Linked DNA regions of Homo sapiens: region 2 is linked to region 1. Evidence: promoter capture Hi-C in human tissues and cell types (Jung and others, 2019). All regions are on one chromosome and are shown on one strand. Each heading gives the region's core, a stretch centred on a gene start or on the middle of the fragment in contact. The rest is flanking DNA. Distances are from core to core; before and after follow the strand shown. Region 1 holds the start of SERP2 (stress associated endoplasmic reticulum protein family member 2). Region 2 overlaps LACC1 (laccase domain containing 1).

What was found. Contacts are between HindIII fragments. The study calls those that stand out against the background at their distance.
Region 2: a contact is called between a fragment that was not itself captured here and the fragment with the promoter of SERP2 in region 1, in 3 of the 25 tissues and cell types used here (H1 embryonic stem cells, dorsolateral prefrontal cortex and mesendoderm cells).

The regions. Positions count from the first base shown.
Region 1 is chr13:44,371,251-44,375,602 of GRCh38, forward strand. It overlaps SERP2 (stress associated endoplasmic reticulum protein family member 2), which reads left to right and starts at 2,574. Exons shown (of 3, transcript NM_001010897.3): 1 at 2,574-2,859. The coding sequence starts at 2,776. It overlaps LOC105370297 (a long non-coding RNA gene), which reads right to left and starts at 2,316. Exons shown (of 2, transcript XR_001749858.3): 1 at 2,147-2,316; 2 at 1-1,947. The HindIII fragment of the contact is 4,304 bases long and covers 1,498-4,352 here.
Region 2 is chr13:43,883,618-43,887,969 of GRCh38, forward strand. It overlaps LACC1 (laccase domain containing 1), which reads left to right. Exons shown (of 7, transcript NM_153218.4): 4 at 154-319. Among named protein-coding and RNA genes, the nearest start is that of LACC1, 5.9 kb to the left of the region's middle. The HindIII fragment of the contact is 5,982 bases long and covers 1-4,352 here.

The DNA of each region.
Region 1 (4,352 bases), core at 1,324-3,823:
CTGATTGATTACATCATTGGTCACTGGTGATCAACTTAACTTTCAGCCCCTCTCCTCTCTGTGGAGGTCTGGGGGGACAGGGTGGGACTAAAAGTCCCAACCCTCTAATCCTGCCTTGATCTTTCTGGTGACCAGTCCCCATCCTGAAGCTATCTAGGGTCTCCAAGTCACCAACCATCTCATTAGCATACAAAAGGTAAGATATTTTCATCACTCTGGAGAGTCCAAGGAATTTAAGAGTTTTAGGTCAGGAAACAGGGACTACAATCAAATATATATTTCACAATATCACACGCAGATATACCTGCACAAGTACACACTGATCTATGTACAGGGATATTCACTGAAGCATTGTTGGCAACCACAAAAAAAGAAAAACTGGAAATAATCATCCATGGTTACATCAGTTCAATATATTACTGTATAATCATACTATGAGACATAACACAACTACAAGAAAGAGGTCATATATAAGTGATATGATAATGTTGATATATTAAGTTAGAAGAGCACGTGGCAGAACAGTTTGCATACTACTATTCCGTTTTTTTTTAGAAGGGAATATACAAATAGTCTTGTATATACTGGAAGGGCAACCCAGGAACCGTGGGAACTTTTTGGGGAGGGTGGCAAGGAAAGAGAGACCTTTACTTTTCATTTTCTATCCTATTTCTGTTTGACTATTTACTGTGTAGATGTAGTCTACTCATAATTAAAACAAACTAATTTAAAATGCCGGAAAAGTGAAGCATAGCAGGAAAAAGGAGTCAACAGTAAAGAAAAATTTTCCCCAAAAGGGGCTTCTCTCAGTTAAGAACACTTCTGAACTGTACTCACTGAATGTGAAGACCCAAAGAGAAAACAGTCTCTGTCTGTGTCTTTTCCTTAATGTCGCTCAGAGCCAGACCTCTACTCACCTGGTGAGGACCTGGGTCAGTCTCCTGGTATTTGGACATGATCTGAGAGGAGTGAGTCAGGTAAAGGAACCTTCTGGACCACAGACAACAGCCAGGCTCAGCAGGGATCACTGAGGTAGGAATCCCCCCACCCAAACCCCTAAAAAAGAGCCAACAGTTATTAAAAACATGGGACTAGAGTGGGGCAGACTGGGTTTATGGTCCTGTTACAACAGTGGTGATGCTAACAGTTAAAAGACCATAGAAGCTTGTTTCAAATTAATTGGCCTGTAGAGTAGGAAAAAAAAAAAATGACTCTACTAATGATCCTAGGCAATTCTGTCTTCTAGGTTACAGCAAGCAGCCCCCAGAATGGCCTTTATTGAAGCCTGAGTGACAAGAAGCCTGTAGCGGGGTGAGGGGGACCCGCTTGGAAAAAGGCCCCAAAAGAGGAGCTCTTCCTAACTCTCCAATGACATGGGAAAATTTTACTCACACAAAATTCCCTGGAAACCCAGCCACCTCCCGCTCCAAGAGAAGGCCTAGAGATGCAGTGGCCAGAGACAGCCTCAGGCCTTCTTCCCCATGCTGGGGGTGCTGCTGCTTGCCTTCACCCCGACCCGGTATCCCCACTTCCCGCTGCCCCAGATCTCCCAGGCTGAATGTCCCCTCTTCGCCTCCACTCTTCTGAGCTTCTAAGAGCTAACTCCAAGTGAGGAACTGAACCCCTTCCACCCCTACCTCCCCAGGCAATCTGTAGAGCTCTTGAGCCCTAATACCAGTGTCTGGGAGGCGCGTAAACGCTTCCATTTTTATCCTTCCACTGCAGAAAATGCCCAGTTTAGTCTGGGAGACACTCAGACCCCTCGGGACAAGGGTGGCTAGAGAGAGGTCCAAGCTGCCCTGGGTGGGTGGGGAGTCAAGGCAGGCCAAAGCTTCAGATTTAGACAGTAACCACCAAATCCGACCTGGGCTGCAGGTCCAAGGCCTCTTCCTCTTTCCTGCATGCTCCGCTCTGCCGCTGGCCCATCTTCCAATGCAACCCCTACAACTACCAAAGCAAAAAGGCCTGTCCCAACTCCATCCTCACGGCCCGATCCCCAACCCTCAGGGGATGCCGCTTCGTGTCTCCTCTTTATTTTACAACGCGGCCCTCCTTGCAGCCCTCACGAAAAGTTCTGCAGTGGGGTCCCCCAGCGTGGGGCCCTTCTCGAGACCCTTAAAGAGAAGGCTCGTTTGGTGGACCATACCCGGGCAGCGCGGGCCCGGGCCTGGACTGGTTCTACTTGTGTTCTGAGGTCCCTGACCACCGCCTTGGGTCCAGCCCTCGTCCAGGGGGCGGCGGTGCAGGGGAGACCGCGCGGCCCGGCCTGAAGCGCGGCCGCCCTCATCCCTTCCCCGGGGCTGGGGTGGGTCACCGGCCGACAAACACAGGAGGGGCCGCGTCCCCGTCCCCGACGCGCTCACAAACGCCGTGGTCGCCCGAACCTTCGGCCCCGCAGCATTCGGCTACAGGACCGCGACACTGCAGGGCCCCGGCTCTGCGCGCTGCGCTCCGGCCGCTCGGCGCGGGAGGACGTGCGGTCGCGCCTGCCTCGGTGGCCGCGCGGGGTAGGTGGCTGCGGGGACCGGAAGGATGGCGAGGAAGTCGGAAAGGGTTTCCTGAGATGAGAGATTACTTCCGTCCGGGCTGCGGCCTCTCTCTGGAGTCGGCTAGCCGGGGCTCGGGGAGCGGGGTGCGCAGGGCTCGGGGCCACGCCTTGCCACCTGCAGCGCCCGGGTGGGCCGCGGGGGCCTCGGCGGGACGCGCTCGGCCCTGTCGCAGGAGCTAACGCAGGGGGAATCCTTGCAGGTGGGAGCATTTCAGAGCGCACAAGCCATGGTGGCCAAACAGCGGATCCGGATGGCTAACGAGAAGCACAGCAAAAACATCACCCAGAGGGGGAACGTAGCCAAAACCCTGGTAAGGCGGGGTCGGCGCCGGCCAGGCAGAGCCCTGCAGCCCGGCGGGGTGGGGCGGAAGGTGGGGGCGGGGCCGGGCGGGTAGCGGCGCAGGGTCCGGCCTCCCGGCTCCCGGCCCGCCCCTTCTGCGGGGTCCTGCAGAGTGGGGGCTGAGAGCTGGGTTCAGGGCGGCGCGGTCTGCTTGGCGTCCTCGTGGGCGGAGAGGGCCCTGGTTGGTCGTGGCCCCTCTGGGAGTGGCTACCTGGGCTACCAGGGAGGCGCAGAGGAGCCCTCCTCCCCGACCCGCACCCCCTGTCCCCCTGCCCGGGAGACAGCTGGGCCTTGTCCCGGAGAAAGACGGAAAGCCTCATCCTTAGGGGCCAGTTAAGTCAACTGCATGACACAGAGCCTGGAACCTAGTATGTTCTAGAACGTTGCATGACACAGAGCCTGGAACCTAGTATGTTCTAGAACGTTTGTTGAATGAATGAATGAATCAATGGCTAAATGGAGGCCACTTGTCATCTCCTCCCGGACTCCACCTGTCTTCCCTCCCCAACAGACTTGCACCAGGATCAAGTTTTCTTTCCAGCCCCTTTGTGACGGTTTCACTGGAGGTGTGGAAAGAGCTCAAAATGGGGAGTGAGATTTGGACCCACATTCCCTCCAGCCTCTTTTTTCTCTTTTACCTCTCTTCCAGCGAGACCTCCCTCAGCCCCTAGGCTAAAGTCTAAGGGCAGCATTCCTATTCTTTCCACTTGGTGAATTCAGACTCATTCTCATGGTATAACTTTAGAGACCAGTTTATTGTCAGGCATTCGGTGTCCCTAGAACTGTAAATTCAAGCTTTGCAACTGGACTTTTAAGTAAAACCTGTGCCTTACACTCAGGAGTTTCTTTTAGCAAAGCAGATTATCATCAACAGAAAATGCGAGGCCTGTGACTTTGGACATTCAGAGGCATGAGTCGCATGGGTAGTTTGGCGAAGTTGGTCTCCAAGTATATGAGCAAAGGCGCCTGGGATCTGTTACCCCGTACAGTTAAGTGGAAATCCAGCTGAAGCCTGGAGTTTGGCTGGGAAAGCTTGCAGATTTGATGAATCAATTCCTTTTAGCCAAAGAAACTATATTGGTTTGATTAACTAAGCAAAAAGCTAGATCTGTAATCATCACACCAGAATTCTTGCAAAACCAAGCAGTATTACGGCAGAGAAACTCTAGGACCAAACTCAACTCTACTCAGAGCTTTATACACAAGTCTAAGCATAACTCAACTCTACTCAGAGCTTTATACACAAGACCTAAGTAATCCTTAAAATTCTCTCATTTAGGAATTATATCACTCAGTTGTGATTAGGCAGCAAAATGCCAAGATGCCATCAAATTGGAACCATTTTGTCACATTGATTTATGTTTTCCCTATTTTTACTGAGGAAAAAAAAATGGCTGCCCGGGTTGACATTGAGAAGCAACTTATAATTGATGTTAAGGCATGCAGGGTTTTATATCCCTAAGA
Region 2 (4,352 bases), core at 648-3,147, 490 kb before region 1:
TGTTTTCCCATATATAAAAGTGATATATTTAATGAATGCTAGTAATCTTAAACTGGTTATATAATTTTATACTACAATGAGTACCTTCGAGAAAGCTTATGGTATAAGAAATACTATTTCCAAAACATTTTTGTTGCACATTTTTGGTATTAGACTCATCATTCCAATGACATCTGGATTATGGGAAGAAAGGAGCCTGACTCTTATGATGGAATAACCACAAATCAGAGAGGAGTCACAATAGCAGCTCTTGGTGCAGACTGTATACCGATAGTTTTTGCAGATCCAGTCAAAAAAGCATGTGGGGTTGCTCACGCTGGTAAGTATACTTAATTAAACATTTAGAATTTTACTCATTTTGTTGTGCAGGAAAAATTGTAATTTCTTTCTGATGGACATGGCAAACAGTTAATTACATTACACTGTGGTAAGTGTAATGATGGGAGAGGCGGCATAGTTTTATTATAGGGACAGCTAAGAGGAGTATCTGCATCAAATTATATGAATTATAGTAGAATTCCCAAAGGAGGTGGCACCTAGGTTGATTCCTGAGGAATTTGTTGGTTTTGGCTGGGTAACAGTGTTCCTTAGCAAGGGTGCTATTAACATTTTGGGCAGGATAATCCCACATTGCAGATTAAGTGTCTTTAGCCCCTGAAATCCTTAATGACAGTAGCACCTCTAGTTACTGTAATAACCAAGACCAACCAACCAACCAATCAAACAACAACGAAACCCTCCAAGCTTTTCAAAACACTCCCTAGGGGAGTGGTACTGCCTCTGGTTGAGAATCCTTGAAATCCAGGCCATAGGAAATAGGAATGTTAGGCATGTTGCAGAGAAGTGTTCACCCAGATGGAGCTGCATGTGTAAAGCTAGGGAGGTAGGAAAAAGCAAGATGTTTTGAAAACTGTTTTTAGTTTACATCACTTAATGTATTTAACTGTAACTATTCTCTGAGAGCAAAGAAGTATTTTTAGAAGGTATATTGTGTTAAGGATATGGAATTTTGTTTTCTGAAGGTATTTTAAAATAGTATTTTAGATTACCCCATAGCTGTGATTTTGTGTGAAATGAGGGATGATCTTTAAAATTTCCTTCTACTTGTAAATCTATGGCTACTTTGCTTTTTAGCTCATAGGTAAAAAAGAAAGTAGCATATTTTTATTTTGACCTAGCTGAAATAATGGGATTGAATGAGTAGAAGTCAGGTTTACTACATGACATTGTCAAAAAGTTATTTAAAATTTGAGTCTTGGCTCCTGGATATAAAAAGAGGATATTATTTTTTTACTTCTTAGGTTCGAAAACATTTAGTTTAAACATATCCAAGATCAAGCAGTCAAAATGAAGTTATAAATGTGAATTTCAAGTCATTAATAAGTTAATTTTGAAAGAATAAAATACCTAGGAATACAGTTACCTTAACCAAGGAGATTAAAGGTCTCTACAATGAGAAGTACAAAACACTGCTGAAAGAAAGCAGAGATAATATAAACAAATGGAAAAACATTCCATGCTCATGGATAGGAAGAATCAATATTGTTAAAATGGCCACACTGCCCAAAGCAATTTATAGATTCAATGCTACTCCTATCAAACTACCAATGTCATTTTTCACAGATTTAGAAAAAACTATTTTAAAATTCACATGGAACCAAAAAAGAGCCCAAATAGCCAAAGCTATCCTAAGCAAAAAGAATAAAGCTGGAGGAGTCATATTGCCTCCCTTCAAGCTGTACTCCAAAGTTACAGTTACCAAAACAGCATGGTACTGGTACCAAAACTGACACATAGGCCAATAGAACAGGATAGAGAACCTAGAAATAAAGCCACACACCTACAACCATCTGATCTTTGACAAAGTCGACAATAACAAGCAATGAGGAAAGGAATCCCTGTTCCATAAATGGTGCTGGCATAACTGGCTAGCCATATGTAGGAAATTGATACTAGATCCCTTCCTTTCACCATATACAAAAACTAACTCAACATGGGTTAAAGACTTAAACATATAGCCTAAAACTATTAAAACCCTAGGAGGAAACCTAGGAAATGCCATTCTGGACATAGGCATAGGCCTTGGCAAAGATTTCATGGTGAAGACTTCAAGAGCAAACAAAAACAAAAATAGTCAAGTGGGACCCAATTAAACTAAGGAGCTTCTGCACAGCAAAAGAAACTATCAACAGAGTAAACAGAAAACCTACAGAATTGGAGAAAATATTTGCAAACTATGCAGCTGAAAAGGTCTAACACCGAGACTCTATAAGGAACTTAAATCAACAAACAAATAACAATCAATCCCATTAAAAAATGGGCAAAGGACATGAACAAACGCTTCTCAAAAGAAGACTTACACGTGGTCAACAAGCATATGAAAAAACGCTTGATATTACTAATCATTAGAGAAATGCAAATCACAACTACAATGAGATACCATTTCATACCAGTCAGAATGGCTGTTATAAAAAAAGTCAAAAAACAACAGATGTTGGTGAGATTGTGGAGAAAAGGAAATGCTTACACACTGCTAGTGGGAATGTAAATTAGTTCAGCCACTGTGGAAAGCAGTTTGTATATTTCTCAAAGAACTTAAAATTAGAACTACCATTCAACCCAGCAATCCCATTACTGGGTATATACCCAAAGGAATATAAATTATTCTGCCATAAAGACACATGCACACGTATGTTCATCACAGCACTTTTCACAATAATGAAGACATGGAATCAACTTAGATGCCCATCAGTGGTGGACTGGATAAAGAAAATATGGTACATATACATAATGGAATACTATAAAGCCATAAAAAAGAATGAAATCATATCCTTACAGCAACATAGATGCAGCTGGAAGCCATCCTAAATGAATTAATGCAGGAACAGAAAATCAGATACCATATGTATCCTTTAAGTGGGAGCTACACATTGAGTACACATGGACACAAAAAAAGGGACAATGGACATGGGGGCTTACTTAAGGGTGGTGGGTGGGAGGAGGGTGACGACTGAAGAACTGTCTGTTCGGTACTATGTCCACTACTTGGGTGATGAAATCGTTTGTACACGAAACCCCAGTGACATGCAATTTACCCATGTAACAAACCTGCATATATGTACCCCGAACCTAAAAAGTTGGAAGAATAAAAATAAATTAACTTTAAAATATAATATAATTAGCTACATTGTATACTACTTTTATCAGATATCAAAAAGAATAAAATTCTTCTATGGGACTAATTTAATAAAGATCTTTTAACTAGATATGTATATATAGATAGGCATAGAAAAATCAAATAGAAAGGAGGTGGATGAACTACAAGTGAGAGGATAACTAAGGAGGCTCACTGAGGAAGAGAGCTACTCTCATCTGTAGAAAAGCCCTGACAGTTTCTCTCTTTAACTCAAAATGCCTATATCTAGTTGCTTCCCTTTGAACATCACTGTCTGCATCTTCCTAGGTGCCTGAAAATCATTATGTCAAAAACTCAACATTTTTTTCCTAAAGTCTTCTCTGCCAGTTAGGTTTCCTGTTTTAATTATTGATATCCTACCCACTTACAGATAGAAACTTGATGTCTTCATTCTGTACTTCCCATAACCACATATTCAGTGGGTTACCTGTAGAGGCTGAACCTGTCACCTAAGTCCTTCTTGCTTTCATCATCTCCTTTTATCTGTAAAAATTGATCCCTTCACCTGAGTGCCTACCTTTTGAAGGGTATGAGTATGGAGTGCTTAAGGAAGGTGTAAGGGTACTCATTATTGGCCAACCATATCAGCTGAATCAAACCCAGATATAGGGAATAAAGGAAAAATGCAATATTCTTAGCTTTCTGTCTTTGGCAACAAGAAGGTAGCATAAGTAAAGAAGATGGTTTTATCTTAGAACACTGTAAGATGCAAGGCAGATAAGACAAAGATGGCAAGGGAACGATAGTCTGGGCAAGTGGGAAGGGAGTAAAAAGAGGCTGTTAATTGAAATATAATAGATATATTTTTGTAAAAAGGGAGAGATGAAAACTGCAAAACATTGCTGAAGGACATTAAAGAAGACACAAATAAATGCAGAGAAATTCTGTGTTCATGGATTAGAAGTTAGAGAAACGCAAATCAAAACCACAGTGAAATATCACCCCACATCCATTAGGATGGCTAATATTTTAAAACCTCAGAAAATAAGTGTTGTTGAGGATATGGAGAAGTTGAAATCCTGGTGCACTGGTGGTGGGAATGTGAAATTGTGTAGCCACTATAGAAAACAGTATGGCAATTTCTCAAAAAATTATAAATAGATTACCATATAATCCAGAAATTCCTCTTCTGGAAGTATATCCAAAATAACTGAAA